2 separate regions of the Homo sapiens genome follow, and region 2 is linked to region 1. Evidence: promoter capture Hi-C in human tissues and cell types (Jung and others, 2019). All regions are on one chromosome and are shown on one strand. Each heading gives the region's core, a stretch centred on a gene start or on the middle of the fragment in contact. The rest is flanking DNA. Distances are from core to core; before and after follow the strand shown.

Evidence for each region. Contacts are between HindIII fragments. The study calls those that stand out against the background at their distance.
Region 2: a contact is called between a fragment that was not itself captured here and the fragment with the promoter of MKX in region 1, in 2 of the 25 tissues and cell types used here (neural progenitor cells and spleen).

What each region holds. Positions count from the first base shown.
Region 1 is chr10:27,742,950-27,747,442 of GRCh38, forward strand. It overlaps MKX (mohawk homeobox), which reads right to left and starts at 2,870. Exons shown (of 7, transcript NM_173576.3): 1 at 2,758-2,870; 2 at 279-548. The coding sequence starts at 466. It overlaps MKX-AS1 (MKX antisense RNA 1), which reads left to right and starts at 1,666. Exons shown (of 2, transcript NR_121652.1): 1 at 1,666-1,999. RefSeq lists enhancers at 1-10, 2,361-2,951. The HindIII fragment of the contact is 9,708 bases long and covers 1-4,493 here.
Region 2 is chr10:27,573,928-27,578,439 of GRCh38, forward strand. It overlaps LINC02680 (long intergenic non-protein coding RNA 2680), which reads left to right. Exons shown (of 3, transcript XR_007062094.1): 3 at 4,444-4,512. Among named protein-coding and RNA genes, the nearest start is that of LINC02680, 10 kb to the left of the region's middle. The HindIII fragment of the contact is 7,453 bases long and covers 1-4,512 here.

The DNA.
Region 1 (4,493 bases), core at 1,620-4,119:
CGAGGTCCAGGCAGCGGAGGGCCGAGGGGCAGCTCCTGGCGCCCTTAGTCTCCACCAAGCTCTTTGGAGCTGCCCCGACGAATTGATCCCTCATGTTTTAAGATAGGAGCCCCTTAACATGAGAATGCGCGAGCCCTGGAGGGGCAGACCTGCACTCCCAGGGAACTCCGGGCCCTTTCCCGTCCACCCGCCCGCGTTGCCACGGGACCCCGTCACAGCTCACCACCCCCACCCCTCCGGGCCGCAGGCGGGCAGGGCCCCCAGGGGAGTGCGCATACCCGGTCCTCCGGTGTCTCAGGCCGAGGTTGTCCTTGAGGGGCGGGCCGTCGGGAATGCCCACCTCGGGGCGGGCGTGAGGACTGTCCAGGACACCGCTGTAGGGCCGGCCACCCCGCTCCCGCTCCGAGGCGCCTCCGTCCTCAAACAGCACCGCACCGCTGAGCTTGTTGAAGACGATGGTGTTCATGGTGTCGGTTGGTAGGGACGCGCGGCGCGGCCGCAGAGCCTCGGGGCTGGGCCGCCGGGAGCTCCGCAGCGGGGCTCGGCTTCTAGGAGAGGAAGGTGCATCTCGTTACTTACTGGCTGAGAGTGCTCAGACCCCTGCAGGTTCAGGGCCTTGAACTTGGCCGGGTCGCCGGGCTGCGGAGCCGAGGGGAGGAGCGGCGCCGCCGCAACTGGCAGGGACCCTGCGGCTCTCCCCAGTTGGCTACACGCCCCCGCCCCTGCAGGTTCCCCGGACAGGTACCTGCCCTCTTCCTTGCCTGGGCGATCGATCCCCCCAATCCCTTCACTCCCCAGAACTACAACCGGGAATCATTCACCCGCAGAGGCAAAGGAAACGAATTCCCAAACGAGCCTCTGGGTTTCAGTTTGAATCTGGGAGAGGCATACTCCGGACTGCGGAGCGCGACCGGCGTGAGGCCGCGCGTGGTTCTTCAATCACAGCAGAAGACTAAAGCCTCTAGGAACCCCAACTCGGGGCGTCAGGAGGGGTTGGATGGAAGGGAAGATTTGGGGTAATGTGCCAACCGTATCCACAAGACCCCCCAGCTCATGAGTCCCAGGCCATACCGGGATTTGGGGGATTTTCGTGTTTTCTAGATCGTGGATGGTTTGGTTGAAACCCCCGCATCTTCTGTCCGCCAAGGTCCCCCGGGGTGAGGTTGGGTTCAAGGACAGGAAAAAGTTAAGTGGCGTCAGGACGAAAGCACCACTTCTCCCCCTTCTCTCCCAGAATCTTCCTATCATCCCCCAACGCGCCCCGGGAAGTGCATGGTCCTAAGGTCCAAGGCGCCAGGACCCAGGTCCCCAGAGCCCTCAATCAGTGCCATTCTCTTCCGCAGCGCGGGTGTCAGCCGCGAGCTCGTAGCCCCTCGACACCCGCCTCTCTCTGGGGTCTCCGGGGACCCTTTCAGAGGCTGTAAAGGTGTCAGAAGCCCAAGGCAGGAGGCAGCTTGGTCGGCGCACCTCCCGGGCCACTGCTGCCACTGTCGGGGAGAGCCAGCAGCTCACCTCTGGGGTCGCGGAGGCCCTGAGCCTCTGCCTGCCGCGCACCGGCGTCAGGAGCAAGTCCGCGCGGCCGCGGAGCCGCAGAGTTACAGCCCCAAGGCGCGCGGCGGACTTCGCCCGCCCCATCTCCTCGCCTCGCGCCTCGGGACAGCTCCCGTTTCCTCCGAGCGGCCTCAGCTTCGCTGCCAGCGCCCCCTTTGCCCGTCCAGCCGCGGCATGGGCTGCTACTCCACTAACACACGCGCGCGCGCATACACACACACACACACACACACACACACACACACCCTTTGCCTCGCCAAGCGCCCACACTCGCCAACGCCCCCGCCCCGCCCTTCGGCCACCGCAGCAGAGGCCACGCGTGACATTTAGGACCACGCGTGACCACCGCGATCAAACGACGGCTACGGTCTGTGTTCGTAGGGAAGTGAAGTCAGACCTCTGCTGGATGTCGTGTGTCCCCTAGGACTGCGTCCTCCCGCGCAGACAGGTACGTGCCTGGGGTGTGCACATAGCCTCGGTGATAAGTGTCAAAGAGAATTTTCGTGCTTGCAGCCCCTGTTCTACAGTCAAGACTCGCGTTGGTGTTTTCTTTTAAAATCATGCCCTTAGGGATGTGTGTTCATGCTGCTTTATTTGTACAAGACACCCTTCCCCGGCCCGGCCTTCTCCGAGCCACCCCAGCGCGTCCTCCTAGATGCGACGACGTGTTTTTCCTAGCGAAGTCATCACGAGGTTAGCCACCTCGGACACTTCCCCGGCAGCCCCAAGCCCACGCAGAGATCGCAGACACAGACACCCGGCGCGCTGTAGGTCTGCAGGCAGCAGGCTCAGAGGCAAGCGATGGCAAAGGTCCGAGCGCTGTCCTGTCGCAAGGGGTCCGGGGGCGTGTGAACCACACTTGCTGACCCTCCCAGGACTCCCGCGCGCGGCCACCCGCGCCTCTTCTCAAATCACTTACCCCGATTCACTCCAGACTGTGGCCGGGGAGGTCACTCCCTGCAGAAGTGTCCCCCTCCCCCAACGCCGGCGAATAATTTTAAAGCAAAGGAGGCGCGGCCAGGTGGGCTCCCAAGCTCCGCGCAGACCCTTGGGCCAGCCTTGGCCGCTACCCGAGCGCCTCTCCACCAGACCTTGGAGGGAAGTTGGGGGAAGGGCGGGAGAGCACCGGCGCCCAGGGCGCAGGGGCCAGAGCGAGCCTGGCGTTCCGCCGCAGCCGGCTGAGACTCGGCGACGCGGGGGCTGTACCTGTGGCTGCGGGGCCGACGGCCGGCTGCAGGGCGGCTGGCTCTCCCGCCTCGAGACTAGGCGCACTCCCATCCCCGCCGCATGTTCTCCACGCGGGCTCCAGCGCGCTCACCACCGCCACCGCCGTCGTCTCGGCTTTATTTACCCAGCCCGGCGCGCGCCGCCCGGGAACAGGAATAGCGAGGCCTTCTCATGTTTCCTGACTGCCGGTCCCAGCCGGCGAACATCCTGCGGGCGCGGTATCCACGTTCCCGGGCGGGTGGAGAGGAAGCGTCCGCGCCCGCCCGGCCGCGGGGGCTGCTGTTAACCCCTAGCAGAGGAGCCGCTGCCGGGGAGCCCCGGGCCCGCCGAGTCCTCCGGAGCCGGGCGCGGCTCCCAGATCCGCCGGCCTTGCAGTCGTGGAGCAGACGGGGCTTTTCCCTTCGCACTTTAGGAGAGAAATTGGAGAAGCTGCCGGGAGCGCTCGGCTCCGGCTCCAGAAGCTGAGAGGCTGCGGTGCAAATCCCGTGTCTTAGCTGGCCCGATTGCCGGAAATTTCACTGCGCGTGGCTAGGCGGGAGAGGCCACTGTGACGCGCCCTGTATTTTCCTCTCGATTAGCTGGAGGGAAGTTAGAGCTCCGTTTTGCACCTACAGCCCTGGAGCGTATTGCGGGAAGTGCTAGTGCCCAGGAGCCTCTTTTCTGATGTCACTGGGCTTCTGGGGTCCTAGTTGTCTCAGTCAAAGCCAGGCACACATTCACCTCCGGGGCAAGGGCTGGTGAGGCTGCCCTCGCCGCTGGGTATAGGGATGGGGGAAAGCAAGGATGGGATGAGTTCAGCCCAGGTGGCCAACCCGCGGTGGCCCAAGTGCAGAAGAGGAAGCGCGCCCAAAGCCAAGGATCTGCACGCAGCAAAGGAGATGGAACTTAGAAGAATCACAAGCTGGGACACAGGGCAAAGAGAGAGAATGGCTACCAGATTCTCTGATTGATGATACTTTGCTTCCTAACATTACCGCAAATATAAGTAGCGAAAGCGGCGGTTTAGGTGCAACTGCAAGCTCAGAGCTTCTGGCAGCCCAGAAGATCCCCAAGGTGCCAACACGAAGCTGCCTGCGCTCTCGCCGAAGGCCCTGTGGTCCTAGCGAACTTTCGCCCTTTTTAAAGAACAAACTTAGATTTCCCCCCACCAAGCTTAAAGAAATAGCGCCATTTGTCCTTTTCCCCTCTAAATGCGGCTGGCCAGAGCCGGGGCAGTGGCCCACCTTAGCATCTTCTTCGTGTGTGTGTGTGTGTGTGCGCGTGTGTGTGTGTGTGTTTGTGTGTTGGGGGGGTCGCTAGAAGTGCTTAAAATATATACCAAAACTATTATTTTAAAGACTAATCACACCCTCAAATTTCATATGTGTCACCTCCCAAATTACGCGATAGCAAACCGTTGTGCAGGGGTACAATGTAAACCATAAAGGAAGGCCGGTTTACATTTTTGCGCACCAGGAAGATACAAAGTATCATTGGAGCACGTTCTGATGTCCTCGGTTCTCTTTTGTTATATAACTTGCTGTTGCAGCGCTTGCATCTTGTCTTTGGCGCTGCCCTTGTGGTGTGAGTTCAGTACAGGCTTCTGGTCTACAGACCTCGCTGTAGGAGCTTAAAGACAGGGGTAAATCCTAAGGTTTCAGCCATCAATTTTCAGCTAACAAATTTCACCACAGAAGCAGATCTAATTGATAATTCATAGGACAAAAGAGCCACCT
Region 2 (4,512 bases), core at 1,382-3,881, 170 kb before region 1:
TAAGAAAATATTTTAAACAAAATCCAGCTGTTAATCTAAATGCTGATGTTTTTCCTGTTTATAATAGTCTGGATTGAAAAGACTCAAGAAGAATACCTCAGGGTAGAATAACAACTTATTAATCTTATCATTTTCACCTAAATTTTCCTGAGCAGAGGTGCATTCTGCTTGGTTGATATAATTATCATAATAACAGTAAAAGTAACAAAGGAGGCTCTATTTAAACCGATAATTAGAACTTAGCTAATATCATCTGGAATATTTTGTAAGTTCAAATATTTACTGTAGGAATTAATTGATTGGAAAGTCCTATTAAATGAAATTTAATAATATTTTTAAGTAAATTTAAGTAAAATGTATTTTTAAATTATACAAATAATATAGATTCATTTAAGAAAAGTTAGAAAGTTTAGATAACCAAGGAATATGAAAGTATAAGAGTAAGCTTACATATTACTGATTCCTGGTTTGTCACCCCAAAATGCCCTCAAAAGAAAGATCAAATAAATACTATCTGGGGGACAAACTTAGACAAGTCTTTAAATTAGGAACAATGCCAACTGTACTATACAAATGTCACAGAATTCCTGCTGCATACATTACAGTTTGGATCAAGTGAAGGAAGATGGGAGAGTCATGGGTCTTTTCCTTTTCTAAGAAAGCAGTGCAGTATTTTTGGAAGTAAGAAAAAGACATTCTGTTGATGAGGGAGGGGAACAACACTGCAAAGGATGCATCTGGAAGCATCCATGGATCACTGGGGAGTCTCACATACTGTGGTCCCATCTTCCTGCTGGAGATCATGGAGAAGCTAAAGTGTGTAAGAGGCAGTGATAGAAGGAAAAACAAATGCTTCTTTTCTACCATTTTTCTATTATCTGGTGACTTCTTTGAAGCATGGGGCTGTTTAGTACTAGGGGATGTCCCCAGTCTTCAGGGGCTGAGTCGTTAAGATAAGAAATAGACCAGGAAAGAAACTAGATGAGATTTACTTGGGGCTATTTCTAGACCTTTGAACTAGCAGTAGCAAAGGGAAAAACTAGGAGGAAAGTTATGAATACCCTTATCAAATGAAAGCCTATATTCACTACAATTTTTTTAATCTGAAACTTTTCATTATTTTTATTTTTTATGAACAAGGCCTTGCTCTATTGCTCAGGCTGGAGTGTAGTGGCACAATCATAGCTTACTACAGCCTGGAACTCCTGGGCTCAAACAATCTTCCCACCTCAGCCTCCAGAGTATCTAGGACTACAGGCATTCACCCCTAGGCCCAGGTAATTTAAAACATTTTTAAAGAGACGAGGTCTTGCTATATTGCCCAGGCTGGTCTTAAACTCCTGACCTCAACTGATCCTCCTGCCTCAGCCTCCCCAAGTGCTGGAATTACAGGCATGAGCCACCATGCCTGGCCCTGGTTTTAAAAAGTCATTGAAATTCTTGGTGGCTGGTTAATGCAGAGAAACAATTGAAATCATAGTCCTCTCTTCTTGGTAGACCATCATACACCACCAGCATGCTATAATGGCAGCAGAAACATCATTACAGGAAACCAAACAAGCTAAAAACATACAATAACATCAAAAACAGAAATAAAGTTGCCAAAGGCAAAATTCCAGCGCTGGTTGGCCCCCATGATACTCATATCCACCTGTACGACTCAGACTATGGAATGATCAAGAGACAACAATGTAAATCTGCATCTTTCAGGTCATTTTAAAATTAGTTTTGGACATGTAATACACATGTTTAAAAAATTCACAAGCTAAAATAATCATTTTAATGATGAGAAATTATCATTTTTCCTCTTTATTACTTTTTAATTATAAAAATAATATATACTTGTTATAAAAAAACTCAAACATTTAGGAGGGATCAAGGTAAAAAGTTAAACTATATTAGTTCCCTATTGATGGAGATCATGGAGAAGCTAAATTCTATAAGAGGCAGCGATAGAAGAAATGCTTCTTTTCTACCATTTTTCTATTATCTGGTGACTTCTTTAGTCACCATATAAATTACCATAAACCTGGTGGCTTAAAGCAACTTGGATTCATTCTTTTTACAATTCTGAAGGCCATTAGTCTTTAATGGAGTTCCCTGGGCCAAAATCAGAAAGTCAATCAGGCAGCACTCACTGGGGACTTTGGGGAGAATCCATTTCCTTGGCTTTTTCATCTTTTGCGGGATATCCTCATTCCTTGGCTTGTGGTCACACCACATCACCTCTCCTACCTCTGATCTCAGTGTCACCTCACTTTCTCTTCCTTGTAAAATCTCCCTCTGCCTACCTCTTATAAGGATCCTTGTGATTACATTTAGAGCCCACCCAAAGAGTCTCTCCCCAGCTCAAGATCCTTAACTTAATTATATCTATAAAGTCACTTTTGCCACATAAGATAATATATTCACAGGTTCTGGGGATTCGAATGTGGACATTCTTGTGGGGGGCATTATTTAGCCTTCCACATGAGACCTCCTCCACTTATTCCAATTCTGCCCCATCCCTCTACTCAGAGCAAACCACTATCAACTTTTAGGGTTGTATCTCAATACCTTTGTTATGTTACACGTCTATATTCCCACATGACTTTAGGGCTCCTCTGCAGGTGCATAGAGCAACCAAGAATCAAGCGTTCAGGAATTTGTAATTATGTCACCTGGAGAGCCATGCAAATGTAACATGTGTCCAAAATGCACTCAAATCATAAGCACTACAAAAAAATTAAGATGAAATTCTTGCCCAATCACTGCTAAGTGGACCACAAAAGCATTTCAGTTCATAATATTATTTTATTTTACTTCTCAAAATAGGTCCCAGTCCTATTCTCTGTAGGTCTCAGAATAACCAAAGAGAAGTAAATCCCTGTTTCCAATGAAAGCACAATGGAGGGGAGAGACGTGGGAAGGGCAGGTCCTAATTCTGAAGCCAAAAGGATGTGGGAAAACCCAAAATATTAAACTGCGATCAGCATCGTGGCACACATTTTGCGTTTTCCTTTGACCCTGTTGTCCAATAAATGAATGCCTTTAAAATTTTTATTTTAAAATAAAATATTTTATTTTGTTCTTAAAATACTTCATTTTAGGGAGCACAATTTGATTGGGCCATGTAGTAGGTCTGGTGATATTTCAATAAAAGGATTTCTTTTAGCTAACTGAGGGGAAAACCGGGAGAAAAATGATTCCTAAGTGGAGTTAAGATTCACATTAGGGCCGGGCACAGCGGCTCACTTCTATAATCCCAGCACTCTGGGAGGCCATGCCTGCAGATCATGTGACGTCAGGAGTTGGAGACCAGCCTGGCCAACATGATGAAACTCCATCTCTACTGAAAATACAAAATTAGCTGGGCATGATGGCACATGCCTGTAATCTCAGCTACTTGGGAGTTTGAAGTAAGAGAATCATTTGAACCTGGGAGGCAGAGTTTGCAGTGAGCCGAGATCATGCCATTGCACACCAGCCTGGGCAACAAGAGCAAAACTCCATCTCAAAAAAAAAAAAAAAAAAAAAGAGATTCACGTTAAGCAGATTGTGGTGGCTCCTGCCTGGAATCCCAGCACTTTGGGAGGCCAAGGCAGGAAGATTACTTGAGGCCAGGAGTTCAAGACCAGCCTGGCAACAGTGAGACCCCATCTGTACAAAATAAATAAGTAAATGAATAAACAAAATAAAATAAAATAAAAAATAATTACTTTCGTGGAGTTCACTAATCCTGGTTGTCTTCTGGTTTCTATTTCTCCTGATTTATTTTCCTTTGGTGAGAGAATCTCTGATCTTTTGGCCAAAGACATGACTACTCGGAATAAAGTCTACATGGTTTAGTCTCCCTTGGTAGGTACTTCTACATAAGTGATATTTGTCAAAAAGATTCAAGGGCAAGTAGTGCACAAAATTTCCAGTATGTGCCTTCCTCCCTTCCTGTATCCTACTAAAATATAAACCTGACAGCAAACCGTCTTGGACCACGTCATGAGGACAATGCTGTATGGATAGCAGAGCAACAAGATAGAAACAGCCATGGTCCCTGGTAACTCCGAGGAATAGAGCCCCTTGAGTGGCTTAATTCTGGACTCTTCTGCAAGAAAGGAATAAAACTCAGTTTGGTTTAAGTCACTTTATTTCATGTCTCCATTGCATACATCCAAACTTAAATCCTAATAATCCCTGGACATTTAATTTTTGACATATTATAATTAAATCAAAGTAGAAAGCAGTCACTCCTTGTCAGTTACTGAATGAAAATCCCCAAATGTTTCTAGCCTGCTGAGAGTTATCTTCTACCAAACATCAGGAGGTCTGGGAGGTAGGTCCATTGGCTTGGGGGAGATGAAATTTTATGGGATTGACGTAGTAGTGGTGTGGCAGATAAACTTAAAGGTGGTCCCACGACCCCTTCCTGTTGGTATTCAGGCCTTTGTGTAATTGTTTTCTTCTTAGGTGTAGACCAGACCCATGACTTGCTCCTAAACAACAGAATATGACAAATGGAATGGCACGTCACTCCCA